6 separate regions of the Homo sapiens genome follow, and regions 1, 2, 3, 4 and 6 are each linked to region 5. Evidence: promoter capture Hi-C in 16 types of primary human blood cells and fetal thymus (Javierre and others, 2016). All regions are on one chromosome and are shown on one strand. The core of a region is centred on a gene start or on the middle of the fragment in contact, and the rest is flanking DNA. Distances in the headings are between cores, read along the strand shown. Region 1 has its middle 21 kb from the start of OCLN. Region 2 overlaps SLC30A5 (solute carrier family 30 member 5). Region 3 overlaps LINC02198 (long intergenic non-protein coding RNA 2198). Region 4 has its middle 20 kb from the start of SLC30A5. Region 5 holds the start of CDK7 (cyclin dependent kinase 7). Region 6 overlaps MARVELD2 (MARVEL domain containing 2).

Evidence for each region. Contacts are between HindIII fragments. The CHiCAGO score rates a contact against its expected background, and 5 or more counts as called.
Region 1: a fragment that was not itself captured here is called in contact with the fragment with the promoter of CDK7 in region 5 in 1 of 17 cell types (erythroblasts); the score reaches 5.1 in erythroblasts.
Region 2: a contact is called between a fragment that was not itself captured here and the fragment with the promoter of CDK7 in region 5, in 11 of 17 cell types (erythroblasts, monocytes, M0 macrophages and 8 more). The highest score is 10.3, in erythroblasts.
Region 3: a contact is called between a fragment that was not itself captured here and the fragment with the promoter of CDK7 in region 5, in 2 of 17 cell types (neutrophils and megakaryocytes). The highest score is 6.4, in neutrophils.
Region 4: a fragment that was not itself captured here is called in contact with the fragment with the promoter of CDK7 in region 5 in 5 of 17 cell types (neutrophils, total CD4 T cells, megakaryocytes and 2 more); the score reaches 10.6 in neutrophils.
Region 6: a fragment that was not itself captured here is called in contact with the fragment with the promoter of CDK7 in region 5 in 1 of 17 cell types (neutrophils); the score reaches 6.2 in neutrophils.

What each region holds. Positions count from the first base shown.
Region 1 is chr5:69,469,919-69,472,930 of GRCh38, forward strand. It overlaps the pseudogene RPS27P14. Among named protein-coding and RNA genes, the nearest start is that of OCLN, 21 kb to the right of the region's middle. The HindIII fragment of the contact is 4,373 bases long and covers 1-3,012 here.
Region 2 is chr5:69,102,712-69,106,002 of GRCh38, forward strand. SLC30A5 (solute carrier family 30 member 5) reads left to right here. Exons shown (of 16, transcript NM_022902.5): 3 at 351-417; 4 at 1,920-2,005. Among named protein-coding and RNA genes, the nearest start is that of SLC30A5, 10 kb to the left of the region's middle. The HindIII fragment of the contact is 4,406 bases long and covers 1-3,291 here.
Region 3 is chr5:69,011,959-69,015,072 of GRCh38, forward strand. All of the region lies in intron 1 of LINC02198 (long intergenic non-protein coding RNA 2198), which reads right to left. Among named protein-coding and RNA genes, the nearest start is that of LINC02198, 16 kb to the right of the region's middle. The HindIII fragment of the contact is 9,639 bases long and covers 1-3,114 here.
Region 4 is chr5:69,072,746-69,076,089 of GRCh38, forward strand. It overlaps the pseudogene LOC100130639. Among named protein-coding and RNA genes, the nearest start is that of SLC30A5, 20 kb to the right of the region's middle. RefSeq lists a silencer at 2,303-2,471. The HindIII fragment of the contact is 6,468 bases long and covers 1-3,344 here.
Region 5 is chr5:69,233,146-69,236,412 of GRCh38, forward strand. CDK7 (cyclin dependent kinase 7) reads left to right here and starts at 1,741. Exons shown (of 12, transcript NM_001799.4): 1 at 1,741-1,896; 2 at 2,249-2,308. The coding sequence starts at 1,831. RefSeq lists an enhancer at 1,463-1,991. The HindIII fragment of the contact is 18,686 bases long and covers 1,170-3,267 here.
Region 6 is chr5:69,423,189-69,426,560 of GRCh38, forward strand. MARVELD2 (MARVEL domain containing 2) reads left to right here. Exons shown (of 7, transcript NM_001038603.3): 3 at 1,413-1,448. Among named protein-coding and RNA genes, the nearest start is that of MARVELD2, 9.8 kb to the left of the region's middle. The HindIII fragment of the contact is 8,540 bases long and covers 1-3,372 here.

The DNA.
Region 1 (3,012 bases), core at 15-2,514, 240 kb after region 5:
GAATAGGGGAAGAGGAAACACAAGAAGCAGTGCCTGATGCAGAGCCCCAATTCCTACTTCATGGGTGTAAATGCCCAGGATGGTACAAAATCATCACAGTCTTTAGCCATGCACTAACAGAAATTTTGTGTGTTGGCTGCTCCACTGTCCTCTGCCAGCCTACAGAAAGAAAAGCAAGGCTTACAGAAGGATGTTCCTTCAGGAGGAAGCAGCATTAAAAAGCACTCCGAATCAAGATGAGTGGGAAATCATCTCAATAAACACTTTTTTTTTTTTGAGACTGAGTTTCACTCTTGTCGCCCAGGCTGCAGTGCAGTGGTGTGAGCTTGGCTCACTGCGACCTCCGCCTACCAGGTTCAAGCAATTCTCCTGCCTCAGCCTCCTGAGTATCTGGGATTACAGGCATGCGCCACTATGCCCGGCTTATTTTGGGGTTTCATCATGTTGGCCAGGCTGATCTTGAACTCCTGACCTCAGGTGATCTGCTCACCTCGACATTCTAAAGTGCTGAGGTTACAGGCATGAGCCACTGTGCCTGGCCTCAATAAACACATTTTGGATAAAAAATAAATAAATTACCCAGTCTCTGATATTTCTTTATAGCAATGCAAATGGACTAACACAGAGACATTATTGTGAGTGGTAAAGGCAGATTAAATGTCTTGCTTAGAATTACACAGCTGCTACTTGACTTCAAATTATACTATGAGACTACAGTAACCAAAACAGCATGGTACTGGTACCAAAACAGATACATAGACCAATGGAACAGAACAGAGGTCTCAGAAATAACACCACACATCTACAACCATCTGATCTTTGACAAACCTGACAAAAACAAGCAATGAGAAAAGGATTCCCTATTTAATAAATGGTGCTGGGAAAACTGGCTAGCCATATGGAGAAAACTGAAACTATACCCCTTCCTTATAGCTTATACAAAAACTAAGTCAAGATGGATTAAAGACTGAAACATAAGACCTAAAACCGTAAAAACCCTAGAAGAAAACCTAGGCAATACCATTCAGGACATAGGCATGGGCAAAGAGTTCATGACTAAAACACCAAAAACAATTGCAACAAAAGCCAAAATTGAGAAATGGGATCTAATCAAACTAAAGCGCTTCTGCACAGCAAAAGAAACTATCATCAGAGTGAACAGGCAATCTACAGAATGGGAGAAAATGTTTGCAATCTATCCATCTGACAAGGTCTAATATCCAGAATCTACAAGGAACTTAAACAAATTTACAAGAAAAAAACAAAGAACCCCATCAAAAAGTGGGCAAAGGATATGCACAGACACCTCTCAAAAGAAGACATTTATGCAGTCAACAAACATATGAAAAAAAGCTCATCATCACTGGTCATTAGAGAAATGCAAATCAAAACCACAATAAGATACCATCTCATGGCACATGTATACCCGTTAGAATGGTAATCATTAAAAAGTCAGGAAACAACAGATGCTGGAGAGGATGTGGAGAGAAATAGGAATGCTTTCACCCTGTTGGTATGAGTGTAAACTAGTTCAACCATTGTGGAAGATAGTGTGGCGATTCCTTAAGGATCTAGAACCAGAAATACCATTTGACCCAGCAATCCTGTTACTGGGTATACACCCAAAGGATTATAAATCATTCTATAAAGACACATGCACATGCATGTTTATTGCAGCACTATTCACTATAGCAAAGACTTAGAACCAACCCGAATTCCCATCAATGATAGACTGGATAAAGAAAATGTGGCACATATACACCATGGAATACTATGCAGCCATAAAAAAGAATGATTCACGTTGTTTGCAGGGACATGGATGAAGCTGGAAACCAACGTTCTCAGCAAACTAACACGGGAACAGAAAACCAAACACTGCATATTCTCGCTCATAAGTGGGAGTTGAACAATGAGAATACATGGACACAGGGAGGGGAACGTCACATACCAGGGCCTGTAGGGGGGTGGGGGAGAAGGGGAGGGAGAACATTAGGACAAATACCTAATGCATGCGGGTCTTAAAACCTAGATGACGGGTTGATGGGTGCAGCAAACCACCATGGCACATGTATACCTATGTAACAAACCTGCATGCTCTGCACATGTATCCCAGAACTTAAAGTATAATTTAAAAAAACTACGCAGCTGATTTCTGACAGAGCTGAGTTCATAACTGGATTTCCTTTGGATGTTTCCCTCTTTTCTTCTCTTGTGTTGCCAGAACTGATATCAAAGGGAAGGAATACAAGAGAAATATTCAATTTCACTACTTCTTTGATAGTTTGATATGTTGTCCCTAGAAGGCCATGATAATGATATGTTGTCTCTAACTTTCAGGCTAATTATAGGTACAGATAATGGGTGGTTATTTGGACTATTTTAAAAAATAGAGACAGGTTCTCACTATGTTGCCCAGGCTGGTCTCGAACTCCATGGCTCAAGTGATCCTCCCGCCTTGGCTTCCCAAAGTGCTGGGATTACAGGTGTGAGCCACCACACCCAAACTTTTTTTTTTTAATAGGTTCTCACTTTGTCACCCAGGCTGGGGTGCTGTGGTGTGATCATGGCTCACTGCAGCCTCAACCTCTTGAGCTCAAGCAATCTTCCCACCTCAGCCTACCAAGTAGTTGGGACTACAGGTGCTTGCCACCACACCCGGCTAATTTTAAAACTTTTTTCGTGGAGATAAGGTCTTGTGCTGCCCAGCTTGATCCTGGATTCCTGGGTTCCAGTGATCCTCCCACCTCGGCCTCCCCCAGTGTGGAGATTACAGGCATGAGCCATTGTACCCAGTCTATTTGTCCGATTGATTTATTGAGTTGTGGAGTTTGCTGAAGGAAACCGCACCTATGTTTTTGTTTCTAAGGCTAATATTTTCCCTTATGTTTGACAATACATTGATGTGCTAAGACTCTGCAGTGAAAATAGTTTTTTTTTTTTTTTTTTTTTGAGACAGAGTTTTGCTTTTGTTGCCCAGGCTGGAGTGCAATGGTGCGATCTCGGCTCACCGCA
Region 2 (3,291 bases), core at 573-3,072, 130 kb before region 5:
TTGGCTGGGCGTGGTGGCGCACACCTGTAATCCCTGCTACTCAGGAGGCTGAGGCAGGAGAATTGCTTGAACCCGGGAGGCAGAGGTTGCAGTGAGCCAAGATCGTGCCACTGCACTCCAGCCTGGTGACAGAGCAAGACTCCATCTCAAAAAAAAAAAAAAAAAAGTTATCAAAATATTGCAATAGGAGTTTTACTAAAATAAGTATAATTAATTCTCCAGTATGATTTATTCAGAGGATAACACTTCAAGTTCTGGCATATTTGTTTAAAATAAGTGTCTTTACTTAAAACTGTATCTTGTGTTTAATATGGATTAATATTAATATATTAATGTTTCAATATTTACAGGACTGCATTTTTTATGGTTTTGTTTCAAAAGCCATTTTCTTCTGGGAAAACTATTACCAAACACCAGGTAAGATTTTTGCAGAATCTTTTATTCCTAGCAGCTTCTCGTTTAGTGGGCCAGGAGGCAATGCTTATTTTTTATAATGGGTACTTAATGAATGATTTAAGTATGCCACAGAACAATTTTAGAGTTAACTTGCTCTTGTCTTTTCAGAATGGAGACTTTAAATCATAAAGTACTAAGATCATGGAATGTTTTTAAAAAAAACAAGAGGGTAAAAAAAATTATAAAGCATTCATGTAATTGTTTTCTTCAGTACACACTTCTTATTCTGAAAGATTTACAAATTGGACATGAAAGCATGCCCAAGAGCCTAGTACAAATGTCACTGGAAAGCTGACAAAGCATAGGGGTTAAGAGTGTGATTTCTGGAGTCAGACAAAGTCATGTTCTGTCTGTCCTCCTTACTGACCCTTACTTTGGGCAAGTTACTTGATTTCTCTCTACCTTAATTTGCTCACTGTAAAATGGAGATAACAGTAACTTCCTAACAGAACTGTGAGGAAAAATGAATTAATACTTATGAAGTTCTTAGAATGATGCCTCATCATCATTGTGACAATGTGACACCCTCATGATCATTGTCACTGTTCTCTTTAGGCAGCTGTGATTCAAACTAGAAATGTCCTACATTTTGCATAATCATCTCACATCGTCACTTCTTTGGGCAGCAGTTATACCATAGTACATGTTTGCTTTATGCCATGACTTACAAACCTGCGTCATAATTTTTTTATTAGAAAGACGAATTTAAGTACTTCTGTTTCAGAGACCAAGAACATTTTTTAAAATATGATTAATAGTCTAAACCCCATTTTAACTTTTTTCTCTCCTTTCAGATAATTGGATCACTAAAAATTCCTGGTAGAAAAGAATTTAAAGACAAAAAGTTAAATGATCCTAGGAAACTAGTGGGAAACTGAGAAATCATAAAATTGTACTCTGAAGAAAAAGATTTCAAAATCTACCAGCAGACAAGAATATAGATAATGGAAAACAGAATACTGTCCTTTTTTTTTTTCTTTCTTTTTTTGAGAAAGAGTCTTGCTCCATCGCCCAGGCTGCAGTGCAGTGACACGATCTTGTCTCACTGCAACCTCTGCCTCCCGGGTTCAAGCGATTCTCCTGCCTCAGCCTCCTGAGTAGCTGGAATTACAGGCACCCACCACCACACCCAGCTCATTTTTGTATTTTTAGTAGAGACGGGGCTTCATTCACCACATTGGCCAGCCTGGTCTTGAACTCCTGACCTCAGGTGATCTGCCTGCCTCGGCCTCACAAAGTGCTAGGATTACAGGCATGAGCCACAGCACCCGGCCCAGAATAAGAATACTGTCTTGGAAATCTAGACTTAGTCAAGGGATCTTATGTTTTCTATTTACAAAATATGTAATGATTTCACCTTTAAAATATTTGTTATTATTATCTTTCTGTATTTTATTTAAAATTTGGATATATAGCAAAATATATGTGACTGAAATTTTTAATTTTTTTGTTTCCATTTATAGTGGATCAAAATATTTAAACATGCAGTTGCTGGGTGTATTATTTCACTCTTGTGGTTTTTTGGCCTCACTCTTTGTGGACCACTAAGGTAAATAAAAATGCATATTTTGAATGTGTGTTTGTATTTCTTCATTTTGAATATTATTTTTGTTCCACTGTGTTTTACGTCAAATATTTATCTGTACAAATGTGTCTAGCACTTTTATAGCATCAGAGAGAATTCAACAGATAGAACAAACCTGTTTAGTTTCTGGACTAGTTCTTTAGTGAATACCATTAATATATTTATTCATGATTTGTCATAGATATTTTACTAGTTAGAATTCCAAGTTTCAGAAAATTTTTAGCATAAACGGCTTTTTAATCATTTATTCATGATCCCTGTTAACAGCTTAGAAGCTATAATAAAAGGTCTGAAGTGGTAAATAAAATTAGCCAATAAGAAGGAGAACAAAAATCTCTAAAAGCACTCATTTTTTGCACAATTTTGCAAATACTCTCATAAATAAATGTCTCAGAAGTAGTATATCAATTATCAGATTAAATGCGTGGTGGATAAAGTAAACTACTCCCATTTCATATTTCCCTAGATCTATATAGATTAGTCTTTTTCTGCAAGTGGACTGGTTTAAGGAGGAAATGCTTAGGGACCATTGATAGGAATTGTATCATGCAGCTGTGTATGAGCATTCTTTTAACATTTCCCCATCTGTAAAGGATTTTACTTAGTGAATAAGTGTAAGAAAAAATGCCTTGCCGTGAGAATGAGAGGTAAGGAGTGAAATGAAGAATGTTCTTGGCCAGCACTGTGGCTCACGCCTGTAATGCTAGCACTTTGGGAGGCCAAGGGGTGGATCATTTGAAGTTACGAGTTGGAGACCACCCTAGCCAACATAGCAAAACCCCGCCTTTATTAAAAAATATACAAAAATTAGCCAGAAATCACTTGAACTCAGGAGGCGAAGGTTGCAGTGAGCCGAGATCACGCCACTGCACTGCAGGCTGGGCAACAGAGCGAGACTCCGTCTCAAAAAAAAAAAGAATGTTCTAAAGCAGAGAGATCCCCCACCCCCTGGCTATAGACCAGTATGGGTTCATAACTCATTAGGAACCAGGCCACAGAGCAGGAGGTGAGCCACGGGGGAGCAAGCATTACTGCGTGAGCTCTACCTCCTGTCAGATCAGCAATGGCATTAGATTCTCATGGGAGCAGGAACCCTGTTGTGAACTGTGCATGGGAGGGATATCTAGGTTGCATGCTCCTTATGAGAATCTAATGTCTGATGATCTGAGGTGGAACAGTTATGTCCTAAAACATCCCCCCACCACTGCTGTCTGGAAAAATTGTCTTCCAGGAAACCAGACCCTGGTGCC
Region 3 (3,114 bases), core at 334-2,833, 220 kb before region 5:
TAATTGATCTGATGGGGGATCCAGGCATCAGCCTTTTTTAACCACTTCCCAGGTGATTCTAACACGAGGCTAGTGTGAGAACCACGGGGCAGAGGGATTGCAGTGTTTCCAGGGCGTTCCAAGTAGCAGGCAGAGCCTCAGACACATCTGCTTTACATTCCCATTGTTAAAAACTTGTCATTCTTAGCAGAAGGGAAATTCCACCCACAATAGCAGTAGATGCTGTGTACTTTGGTCTGGCTTCTCTAACCCTCATAGAACCTGCAGCTGGTACAGACATTCCCCAAGCAAGCAAGGGTCCTAGAAAGCTACCGAATTCTCGCTAAACCAGTGCCATTTTAAACTTAAAGCTGACTTTGCCACATCAGAACTTACACTAATAATCCATGTACCTCCACATAAGGGAATGTATTTCAATGCCAAGCTCTTCAGGTTCTATAACATATTCATTGACAAAGCTACATCTTAGGGTAGTAGAGAAACTAGAGTCAATGCCCATATGTTCCTGAATATTAATCTTTCTCCAGCATTCCTAGAAGTTTGCCTCTCTATGAAGTTTAAAAGAGCTATATCCAGCCAGGCACAGTGGATCATGCCTGTAACCCCAACACTTTGGGAGGCCAAGGTGGGCAGATCACCTGAGGTCAGGAATTCAAGACCAGCCTGGCCAACATGGCGAAACCCTGTCTCTACTAAACATACAAAAATTAGCCAGGCATGGTGGCGCGTGCCTGTAATCCCAGCTACTTGGGAGGCTGAGGCAGGAGAATCGCTTGAACTTGGGAGTTGGAGGTTGCAGTGAGCCAAGACCACACCACTGCACTCCAGCCTGGGCGACAGAATGAAACTGTCTCAAAAAATAAATAAATAAATAAAATAAAAATAAAAAACAAGCTATATCCATTTCTCCTGAGCACTATCTCACAGTGAATTTTTAAAGTAAATTATCTGGCTTCTGTGGCCATCAATTTTCACTTTTGAAATTTGGCAATGATAATCCTCACTGTAACCTACCAACCACATATTTGGCCCTTACAATGTATCAGGCACTCTAAGCTCTAGTATCTAGAGATGGACTAACCCTACAAAACAAGCACCATTTTTCCAAGTTCTCAATGAGATACCTCATGGCTAGTAACTGTTAGAACTGGGATTTAAATTCAAATCTGCCTGACTCCAAAAACAACAATCTTTTCACAATGCTCTACTGCCCACAGAAAATCTGTTGGAAGGTCAGTAACACAACAATAAAAGTAAATATTTGTATAGCAAATAACAGCATCACCCCAATGTTCTTTCCTACCCTGAGCCAAAGAAAGGCATTTTTAAGTCCCAGCCTTAACATCCTCAATCATGTCAAAGAAAAGTCCGTAAAGCAACCAAGTCCTCTGAGAATGGAAATTCTTCCTGGTTAATTTGTGGGGTGTGTTATAAAGTCACTACTAAATTGTTGTGTAATCAGGTCCTATAGACATTGACTCATTATGACCAGTAGAGTGGGAACCGGAAGGTCCAAGAGACAGATGGACATATTTTGCAGTCAAGTAGGAAAGAAAATTATCACCAAGCAATGCCAATTCCTATGCAGGCCAGGCTCCCTGAGAGGGAAAGGAGATTTTGAGCATATGTCAGGAATATTTATTCAGCCACATTCAAAGCCAGATACACTCAGTGCCTACCCTCCCCAGTCTAATGGTGGAGTGTTAACCAAATAATCTCACAAACATGATTATGTGAAAAGCGCTAGGAAGGAAAAGCACAGTATCTTTTGACAGCATATAACGGAGCACTTCATCTAAATGGAGGGCAGGGAGCAGGCACATATAGTGAAGAAAGCCTTCCCTGAAGAATTTTTATTTTCTGAGTAAGAGTTAACTGTTCCCAAGTTAGCTGATGCTACATTCTGGATTATGTAACAATGATGGCCAGACATGATCTACTGCCCTACCTTTATCATCATCTTCTTCTTCTTCTTCTTCTTCTTCTTCTTCTTCTTCTTCTTCTTCTTCTTCTTCTTTCTTCTTCTTCTTCTTCTTCTTCTTCCTCTTCCTCTTCCTCCTCTTCCTCTTCCTCTTCCTCTTCCTCTTCTTCTTCTTCCTCTTCTTCTTCTTCTTCCTCTTCTTCTTCTTCTTTTTCTTCCTCTTCTTCCTCTTCTTCCTCTTCTTCCTCTTCCTCTTCTTCCTCTTCTTCCTCTTCTTCTTTCTTCTTCTTCTTCCTCTTCTTCCTCTTCTTCCTCTTCCTCTTCTTCCTCTTCCTCTTCTTCCTCTTCTTCCTCTTCTTTTTTTTTAATGGAGTCTCACTCTGTCACCCAGGCTGAAGTGCAGTGGTGCAATCTTGGCTCACTGCAACCTCTGCCTCTCGGATTCAGGCAATCCTCCCACCTCAGCCTCTAGAGTAGGTGGGATTACAGGTGTGCGCCACCACACCCAGCTAATTTTTGTCTGTTTAGTAGAGATGGGGTTTCACCACGTTGCCCAGGCTGGTCTTGAACTCCTGGCTTTGAGTGATCCTCCCGCCTCGGCCTCCCAAAGTGCTGTGATTACAGGCGTGAGCCACCACACCCAGCCCCACCTCTGTCTTCAAAGCCATCAACCAGGCCCATAAGATAATGGACATGAGCCATTCAAGTTGTCTGTAACTCCTGATTTTTCTGGCCTTCTCCTCTTCAAAGGCTTGAGTTTCTAGGTTTTAGTCTTAATGACATGAATCCACACCCCTCCCTTTTCCTGCCCCCACTGTTCTCCTCTTCCTCACTCTTAACACCCAGCCTAACAACTGCATAGCCATGAGCTAACGGCAATTGTCCCGTATCTTCAAAGACAAGAATATTAGTGTTCTTTCCAGCCTTTTTGGAACAAAGAAAGTTGACCACAGCTCTCTACAAGCCAAGTGAATTGACTACATACCTATAACATTTGGTCAGCTACATCCAGCCAGGCTTGTCTTACATAAGCAAGGAAAAACATCACCATAATGTACAAGCCCCTACCTTATTGGGTATGTTATACAAACGCTGGAGGGATATTGTACTTTGAATATTTAAATCCCAGTAGAGTTGGCCGTTCTCACAGAGACAACCCAGACTTGAAGAAAGACTGTCCTTCTCTTCTCAGT
Region 4 (3,344 bases), core at 547-3,046, 160 kb before region 5:
CAAAAAAAAAAAAGAACACGACATCACTTCTGCAGTATTTCTGCCAAAATGATTATCCTAAATCTAATCATGGGGAAACATCAAACACAATCTGATGGACATTCTGCAAAATAATCGACCTGTCCTCTTCAAAATTCCAGGTCATGAAAGAAAGAAGAGACTAGGAACTGTTGCAGATAGAAGGAAACAAATGAGACACGGCAATTAAATGCAACACGTGATCCTGTATTGGATCCTGGATCTATAAATAACTTTATTGGGAAAAATCAGTAAAATTTGAATGAAGTTTGTGGATTAGAAGGTGCTATGGTGGCCGAGCACGGTGGCTCATGCCTGTAATCCCAGCACTTTGGCAGGCCGAGGCAGGTGGATCACCTGAGGTCAGAAGTTTGAGACCAGCCTGGCCAACATGGTGAAACCCAGTCTCTACTAAAAATACAAAAAATTAGCCAGGCATGGTGGCAGGCACCTGTAATCCCAGCTACTTGGGAGGCTGAGGCAGGAGAATTGCTTGAACCTGGGAGAAGGAGGTTGCAGTGAGCTGAGATCGTGCCATTGCACTCCAGCCTGGGCAACAAGAGTGAAACTCCATCTAAAAAAAAAAAAAAAAAAAGAAGGTGCTATGGTATCAATGATAATTTCCTGATTTTCATGGGCATTCTGTGATTACATAGAAGAGTATCCTTATTTTTATGAAACAGACACTAAAGTATTTAGGGGTGATTGGCATCATGTCTGTAACTTATTCTCAGATGGTTCTGGAAAAAGAAATAATCTTTATCTATACAGAGAGAAAAAGAATAATAAGGCAGATATGGTACGTTACTAACGATTAGGGAATCAGGTGGAGGGAACATAGGAGTTCTCTACAGTATTCTTGAAACTGCATTAAGGTTTTTAATTATGCCCACTTTAATAGCTGTAAAATATTTCTTATAACTCTATTTTATAAATCCCCGGCATCTATTTAATTCAAGATCAGAATACAATAAGAGCATGAAGGTAATGAGAAATAAGTCAGGCACAAAGAGAACTTATAAAGGTAAATAAGAGCTATTCACTAAATATACTAAGGCCTATGAATCTTAGGTTCAATTTTTTTTTCTTTTTTTTTTTTTTGAGATGGAGTCTTGCTCTGTTGCCCAGGCTGGAGTGCAGTGGTGAGATCTCAGCTCACTGCAACCTCTGCCTCTTGGGTTCAAGCGATTCTCCTGCCTCAGCCTCCTGGATAGCTGGGACTACAGGCACACGCCACCATGCCCAGCTAATTTTTGTATTTTTAGTAGAGACAGGGTTTCACCATATTGGCCAGGCTGGCCTCTTGGCCAGGCTGGTCTCGAACTCCTGTCCTCGTGATCCGCCTGCCTCAGCCTCCCAAAGTGCTGGGATTACAGGAGTGAGTCACCACGCCCAGCCCTTGGGTTCTATTTTTTAATTACATATGAAATTTTAGTATTAAAGAGCCAGAAGGAGCTTGAAAAGTCTAGTTCCTCAAGTCTTTTCGTCATACATGTTTACATTAGGATGAAGAATAGAAAGGGGCTGAGTACTGTGAGAAGCCAGGAAATGAGGTCCCATGAAGAGAGACATGTTTTCCAAGGAAAAGGACAAGGGAAGTCCACTCACCATGGAAGAAAGTGCCACAGGGCATGCTAGAAAGGCCAAGGACAGCAGAGGGATGGATGGAGGTGGGGGATACAGGTTGCTGCCAGGCAGTGGATGTGAGATGGGCCCCACCCTATTTTGCACCTCAGGCCTGCCAAGCCGGGATCCTTCTGCCCAGCCAGGCTCTGGGCAAGGAAGAGGGGTTCTGGGAGGAAGTCCCAAACTCGAAGGGTGAAGGAAGATGGCAGTGCCGAGGCTTTGGGAAGGGAGCCAGAGGCAGGAATTGGAATTGGGGCCTGGTTTCCCCATGGCAGATTTCATCCAGGTCCAGGATCTGCCCTCTCTTGGCATTGACTGGCCAAGCCATGGCTCAGGTATTCCACACCTGGGCCCGGAACCACATGCCAGAAAACCCAACACTGTTCGGCCCCAGCCGGCAACTTCCAGCAGCCAGGAGCAAACAGGACTTGTGAAGGAGGCAGTGGATCTCCAGAGCCCAGCAGCAGGGAGGCTACTTTCCGGGAGAGGGCAGCAGCACAGGAGAAGGCCCTGCCGCCTACAGGGGTCCTACTCCACTCCGGGACCCTGCCCATCTGTGGCCATCCTCCCACCAGCAGCCTGTCACCTCCCATCCCTCCCGCTGGTGACAGGCACCGGGGTACCGTGCCCAGCCCCCGGGCACCTCCACAGGGCTGCCATGTGGCAGAGGAAGCCGGTGAACTGACGCTTGGCTGCAGCCAGGCAGGCCTAAGCTCTGTTGCCCCGCCGCATCCCAGCTACACCCACAGGCCTGGATGCCAACCAGCTGGCGTCAGTGCCCGCGGTGCCTTCCAGCACCCGCCTGTCCTGGAGGAGCTGCACCTGTCCCCTAATATCTTCACCCGCCTCTTAGGGGCAGCCTTCTCGGCCCTGGCGTGCATGGTGCACCACCTCCACCTCTCTGAAAAGCTGGCCTGGGTGCCCGTGGAGGCCTTCGTGGGGCTGCAGATCCAAGTGAACCAATCCGCCAACCCGTGAAACTGGGACTGTGCCCTCCAGGGAGTGCTCAGGCTGGTGAGGCTGGCGCCGGGCACCAGGACAGGCATCGTGTGTGACCCCAGAACCCGACCAGACCTCGGTGGGGCAGGAGCTCCTGCCGCTGGCAGGGGAGGAAGAGCTGTGTGGGTCGGGGCAGGGCCCAGAGGAGCACCAAGGTGGCCCCTGCCGTTGAGGGGTGGCTGACCTGGTGCATTATGTATGGTAGAACCGAGATGAAACCTGGCGCACCCTCAAGCGGCCCCTGTTGCCAGTGCACCCAGAGGATGACTCCACCCTCAGCACAGTGGTCTAAGGGTGCTCCTGGGGCCACACCACACACTCCTCCTCCTACGCCCTCTCCCTTCCTCTGACCCCCCGCCTTCTCCCTTCCTCTGACCCCCTCGGCTTCCTGTGCAGCCTCACCCCAGCCCCCTAAATACCTGTCCTCTCTCCTCTCTGTCTCTCTCTGTCTCTCTCTCTCTCACACACACACACACACACACACACGCCATCTCTAGTGCCTGGATTTATCTGGTGCTCCAACTTACTTAAAGAATGGGAAGGACTTTGGACAGAAAAGAGGGAGGGACCCTAGATGAAAGGCTGTGGAGGCGGCAAGGAAAATGTACAACTTGAAATGTCTGGGCAGTGGCAAGACCAGCCTCAGGGCTGGAAGAGAGGATGCAAAGAGGGACGGGGAGATGGTGAGACCAAGCTGCAGG
Region 5 (3,267 bases), core at 491-2,990:
GTGAGGTCATTTAAGCCTTGGAACAATCCTTTGAGTAGATCCTATTAGGGATGAAGAAACTGGAAACAAAGTAAGTAATTTGCCCTAGTTGTATCTAGTGGCTGAATACTGATAGGGCCACTATTCAAATGCAAGCAGTCTGATTCCAGAGTTAAAAAAAATAACTAAATTATTGGCCTTGGTATTTTGCTACTTTCTTCAACATATCTCTGAAACTTAGGATTTTCAACTCTTAGAAATAACAAATATAGGCTGGGCGCAGTGGCTTACACTTACAAATACCAGCACTTTGGGAGGCCGAGGAGGGTGGATCACCTGAGGTCAGGAGATTGAGACCAGCCTGGCCAACAAGGTGAAACCCCGTCTCTACTAAAAATACAAAAATTAGCTGGGTGTGGTGGAGCAGGCCAGTAATCCCAGCTAATCGGGAAGCTGAGGCAGGAGAATCGCTTGAACCCAGGAGGCAGAGGTTGCAGTGAGCTCAGATCGGGCCAGCGTACTCCAGCCTGAGCAACAGAGTGAGACTGTCTCAAAAACAAACAAACAAACAAAGGCAGGGGGAGGGGGGCACATTTCCATGTTGACAGCTGCTCTGGCTCAGAAACTTTTAATTATCCACTAGTAGAGCCATCTGGATTACTGCAATAGTTCTCTAATAGGCCTTCTTTCTTTTTCTTGTCCCTCAAAATCTATAATATAGTCTCCCAACAGCAAGAGTGAACCTTTTAAAAGTGAGTCAGGTCATATCACTTGTCTGCTCCAATCCCTCCAGTGGGTTTTCAGTGATGACTTTCTTGTACCACCCTATTTAAAACCTCCATCCCTGCCCCTGCCCTGATTTGTTATCCTTTATCTGCTTTATTATCTCTATAGCACTTATCACCTATGTATCATAACACATATTTGACTTGTTTTTTTATCTCCTCCCATTGGAAGGCAGGGATCTTTGCTCCCTGCTATCTCAGATTCTACAATGGTGCTTGGCACATAGATAACACTCAATATCAGCATCCTAAGAGAGAGAAAAATGAAAAAGGAAAAGCACTCAATATGTTTTTGAATAAATGAATTAGTGTGTTTGTTATGACAATTTATGATAATCAAGGGGTTGGGTACTCATTACTGCTAAGTTAATTGAGCACTGTCTCAATTAATTGAGTTAATGTCTAAGCTTTCTGCATGTTTCATTTAATACCCACAATCTCCTGTGATGTAGTTCATTATTTTTTCCATTTTACCGAGTAGAAAACTGAGGACTAGAAGCTGATTCCCACAGCACGTTTCAGTTGAGTTGGATTTTGTTTTCCTGGGCCTGCTTCTTCATAAAGGGACTGGACTAAGAATACTCTTGACCAGCCCGTAAGAACTTGGCACTCGTCTCAGTAATCTGAGATAGCAGGGTTTGGCGTCCATAGCAACCACGGCGACAGGACGCGCTCGAGCAAGAACCAAAAAGCGAGAACAGGTACAAGGCCAAACTTTCTACATTCACAGACACCTACCAAACCCCGAACATGGAACACCAAATTAGAACGCTGACCAGTTCCTGGTAATGTAGAAAACACCCAAGTTAAAACGGCAACAGAGTGACACAGCAGCCATTGAAGATGCCCCACTTCAGGCACCGACAGGCGTCACGTGACGGGTGGGGAACGCCAACCGCCTGGGCCTAGCGCAGCTTCCTCCGCCCACCACGGAAGTGAGGCGGGGATACTAAAGCGACGGAGCCCGGTGGACGGAAGTGGGTGTTGGAGGCTTTAAGGTAGCTTTAAATTCGTGTTGTCCTGGGAGCTCGCCCTTTTCGGCTGGAGTCGGGCTTTACGGCGCCGGATGGCTCTGGACGTGAAGTCTCGGGCAAAGCGTTATGAGAAGCTGGACTTCCTTGGGGAGGGACAGGTGAGGCTCTCTGGAAGGACGGGGAGGGCCCCAAGCGGACAGCCCCGCGCCGCCTCCACCTTTGCGGGTTTTCCCGTGGAGGCCAGAGGTCTGGCTTGGCTGCTCGTTCTCGTTGGGGGAAACCGTCCAGACGCACTTGCTGCCCATTCTTTACATCCTGGGGGTGAATCCCTGAGGGGCCTCTCCTTGCTGAAGAGTAGCCTGGAGCTGGACGGAGACTGACCCGCCACGTTTCCAGCCGCCGCGAGTCTGCTCAGGAACTCTGGGCTCTTTGCTTCGCGAAATGTAAAAATGCAAAAAGGCAAACACAAAAACTCCCATAAACTTATGTTATTTCTATTTTTCTTTCTAGTTTGCCACCGTTTACAAGGCCAGAGATAAGAACACCAACCAAATTGTCGCCATTAAGAAAGTGAGTTACCTTTTTATGTTGTTTTTAAGTCTCCTTGAAGATGTCTGTATTATTAATTGACTGATAGCCATTTTATTAGTCTTGACCATACTCTGATAATGAGTTACTCATGTCATTTTCAGAGACAAAATAATTAATTAGTGCTTTGTGTTCCCAAACGGAACTCTAGGGTTGAACCCGTTTTAATTTCTATTGAAATGAAGAAGAAGCTGTATGTTATTTTTACTGCATAAATTCATATGTTGTGGGCAAGTACTGCCCATCTTTTCGGTCCTCAGAACTATTGGATACCATGATCTTTCTAGGTCACTGTTTATACCTCACCTGCATCCACTCAGTGTGTCGTATCTGTATTTTCTGTGTACGGATTTACCATGAAAGACTTTCACTAGCATGAACAACATTGATGTGAGGTCTAAAATGAGTTCAGTAGCTTCTTATATTCATTCAAAAGACCTGGGTCGGATTCAGTAGCTTCTTATATTCATTCAAAAGACTTGGGTCGGGCCAGCCGCGGTGGCTCACGCCTGTAATCCCAGCACTTTGGGAGGCCGAGGTGGGCGGATCACTTGGGGTCAAGAGATCCAGACCATCCTGGCCAACATGGTGAAACCCTGTCTCTACTAAAAATACAAATATTAGCTGGGTGTGGTGGCACCTGTCTGTAATCCCAGCTACTCGGGAGGCTGAGGCAGGAGAATCACTTGAACCTGGGAGGTGGAGGTTGTAATGAGCCGAGATGGTGCCACTGTGCTCCAGCCTGGTGACAGAGGGAGACTCCATCTTAAAAAAAAAAAAAAAAAGATTTGGGTCATAATTACATAACTCACGTTCACCTACATTGTTTCTTTTAACCTTCAAAACAATCTATAAAGTGGTTAAAAGTAACCCTATTTTATACTTGAGGTACCTGAGACTGAGTGACTAGGTGACTTGTCAAGATCACACAGCTAGTGATT
Region 6 (3,372 bases), core at 650-3,149, 190 kb after region 5:
CCCAGCCTTAGATTTTCTTTTTACACCTAGTGGAATGGGAAACAAATCGTTTTGTTGTCGTTGTTGTTGTTGTTGATGGTTTGTTTTGAGGAAGGGTCTAACTCTGTCACCCAGCCTGCAATACGGTGGCACAATCATGGCTCACTCCAGCTTTGACCTCCCAGGCTCAAGCAATCTTCCCACCTCAGCCTCCCAGGTAGCTGGGACTGCAGGCATACACCACCACACCTGGCTATTTTTCAATATTTTTTGTAGAGACAGGGTATCACTATGTTACCCAGGCTGGTCTCGAACTTCTGGGCTCAAGCAATCCTCCTGCCTCAGCCTCCCAAAGTGTTGGGATTATAAGTATAAGCCACTGTGCTTGATGGAAAAAAATAGTTTTATAACAAGTACCTACATGTTATACAAAGGACTTTGACATGTGTCCATGTGATCTCTCTCTCTATATATTTTAAATTTTTTGTAGAGACGGGGTCTTGCTATGTTGCTCAGGCTGGTCTCAAACTCCTGGCCTCAAGCAATCCTCTCCCCTCAGCCTCCCAAAGTGCTGGGATTACAGGCATAAGCCACCATGCCTAGCTTGATTGTCACAAAATAATTTATCTTGCTAGAACTCTACATAGATTCAAGTTATTTCTAAAAATGTGTCTTAGCATTTTAAGCATATTTCTTACATTTTTGTTTTTTTATGTAACCTTCACATGTATTAAATTTTTGTTTCTTAAAGTTACAATTTATTTCTTAAATGTACATCTCTGTGTACAAAGTAAAAAATGTTAATTCTAATCAGTATGAAATCCAGATAGTGAAACACATACTTCCTCATAAATTTATGCTAGTTGCATAAGTTATTAAATCTTAATATTTAAAAATTCTATATGAATAGAATGATCAACATAATACTTTTATTTCTTTTTCCTTTCTCAACAAAAACTTATGTCTATGAGACTTTTCATAATGCCTAATTAGACTTCAGTCACCTGATGTTGAAAGTTGTGCCTGTCTGTACGTTGCTATAACTTCCTAAAGGTTAGAAGATGTAATGGCCTAGGGCTTTTTTCTATTAATTTTATAGAGTAATTGTCCTAACTCTTTAATCATGCAAAGTAATGGGAGGCAAGAATAAATAAAATTTGAGGGTAATTCAGAGTGGTTTATCTAACAGTTTCCACCATCTCCGTATTCCCTACTCCTCTCTATGCCCTGATTGACAGGGAATTACAGTTATCCCTCTTCTCAGTTCTCCACTGGCCCTTCAAAACCTAGGCAAAAAAAGGATGAGAAACACCCGTCAAGTAGAGGATCAACCTCTTAAAATTGAGGTTGGGCTATAAATGCAAATGGATGAAAATATTTGCAAAGTAGCTTCACATGCCTTTGAAAAACTATTTGAACTCTTTTTGTTCCAGATAAATGAGCCATCATTGTCATCGAAAAGGAAAATGGTAAGAATAAAGTTTACTTCATATTATGCTTTAGATTTGTTAATACTTTTCTCTTAGGTCTGTTTATCTACATAGTAGTATCGTACATCTGTGAAATGTAGCTATTGGCCAGGTGTGGTGGCTCACACCTGTAATCCCAGCACTTTGGGAGGCTGAGGAGGGCGGAGCACTTGAGACCAGAATTTCAAGACCAGCCTGGCCAAAATGGTGAAACCCTGTCTCTACCAAAAATACAAAAATTACCTGCACGTGGTGGCACACGCCTGTAATCCCAGCTACTCTGGAGGCTGAGGCACGAGAACCACTTGAATCTGGGAGGTGAAGGTTTCAGTGAGCCAAGATCACGTCACTGCACTCCAGCCTGGGTGACAGAGTGAGACTGTTTAAAAAAAGAAAAGAAAAGAAAGTGTAGCTATTACATGCAGCCATAAAAAATGATGAATTCATGTCCTTTGTAGGGACATGGATGAAATTGGAAATCATCATTCTCAGTAAACTATCGCAAGAACAAAAAACCAAACACCACATATTCTCACTCATAGGTGGGAATTGAACAATGAGATCACATGGACACAGGAAGGGGATTATCACACTCTGGGGACTGTGGTGGGGTCGGGGGAGCGGGGAGGGATAGCATTGGGAGATATACCTAATGCTAGATGACGAGTTAGTGGGTGCAGCGCACCAGCATGGCACATGTATACATATGTGACTAACCTGCACAATGTGCACATGTTCCCTAAAACTTAAAGTATAATAAAAAAATATATATATATTAAAAAAAAAAAAAGAAATTGTAGCTGTTACATCGAGTTCATATTAGGACTTTGAGCTTTTTTCCAGATACTAAAAGGACCAAATTAAACAATCATATCTATAGCTGCTTTTAATTTTGTTAGATGAAAATTTATGCAAGTAAACAAACCAACATATGTTTGAAATTTAATTATTTTTTAAATGAAAGTGATTCTCTGAAACTTTCTTCACTTGTATTTAAAGTTCTGTGCTGTTCTTTGTATCCTTCTCACCTTGCTTTCAGATGCCAAATTTTTTACTACACTCACAGGACAGTTAAAAAAGAAATTAATAATAATAATACTTTTTTTTTTTTTTTGAGATGGAGTCTCTGTCGCCCAGGCTGGAGTGCAGTGGCGCTATCTCGGCTCACTGCAAGCTCCGCCTCCCAGGTTCACACCATTCTCCTGCCTCAGCCTCCCGAGTAGCTGGGACTACAGGTGCCCACCACCGCGGCCGGCTAATTTTTTGTATTTTTAGTGGAGACGGGGTTTCACCATGTTAGCTAGTTTCACGAGGTCAGGATGTTCTCGATCTCCTGACCTCGTGATCCGCCCGCCTCGGCCTCCCAAAGTGCTGGGATTATGGGTGTGAGCCAGCATGCCCGGCCAATAATACTTTTTTTTAAAGATGCCAAATTTTGTAGTGTCAGGGAATTTCTATTCCACAATTTACCAACTGTGTGGCAGCAGACAAATTATTTAACCTTTCTATGCCTGCATTTCTTCATCTGTGAGATTGCAATAATAATAATTCATACCTCGCAAGTTTGCTGAGAGGACTCAGTGAGATGCTGTTATCATTATTTACATATATGTAATAATTTATTTTAATAATCATAATTTTACCCTCATTGAAAATTTTACCCTCATTTTTTGAGATACTGGACATTATTATTATTATTATTATTATTATTATTTTTAGACAGAGTCTTGCTCTGTCGCCCAGGCTGGAGTGCAGTGGTGCGATCTCAGCTCACTGCAACCTTCGCCTCCCAGGTTCAAGCAATTCTCCTGCCTCAGCCTCCTGAATAGCTGGGATTACAGGCGCCCGCCACCACACCCAGCCAATTTTTGTATTTTTAGTAGAGACAGGGTTTCACCATGTTGGTCAGGCTGGTCTCGAACCC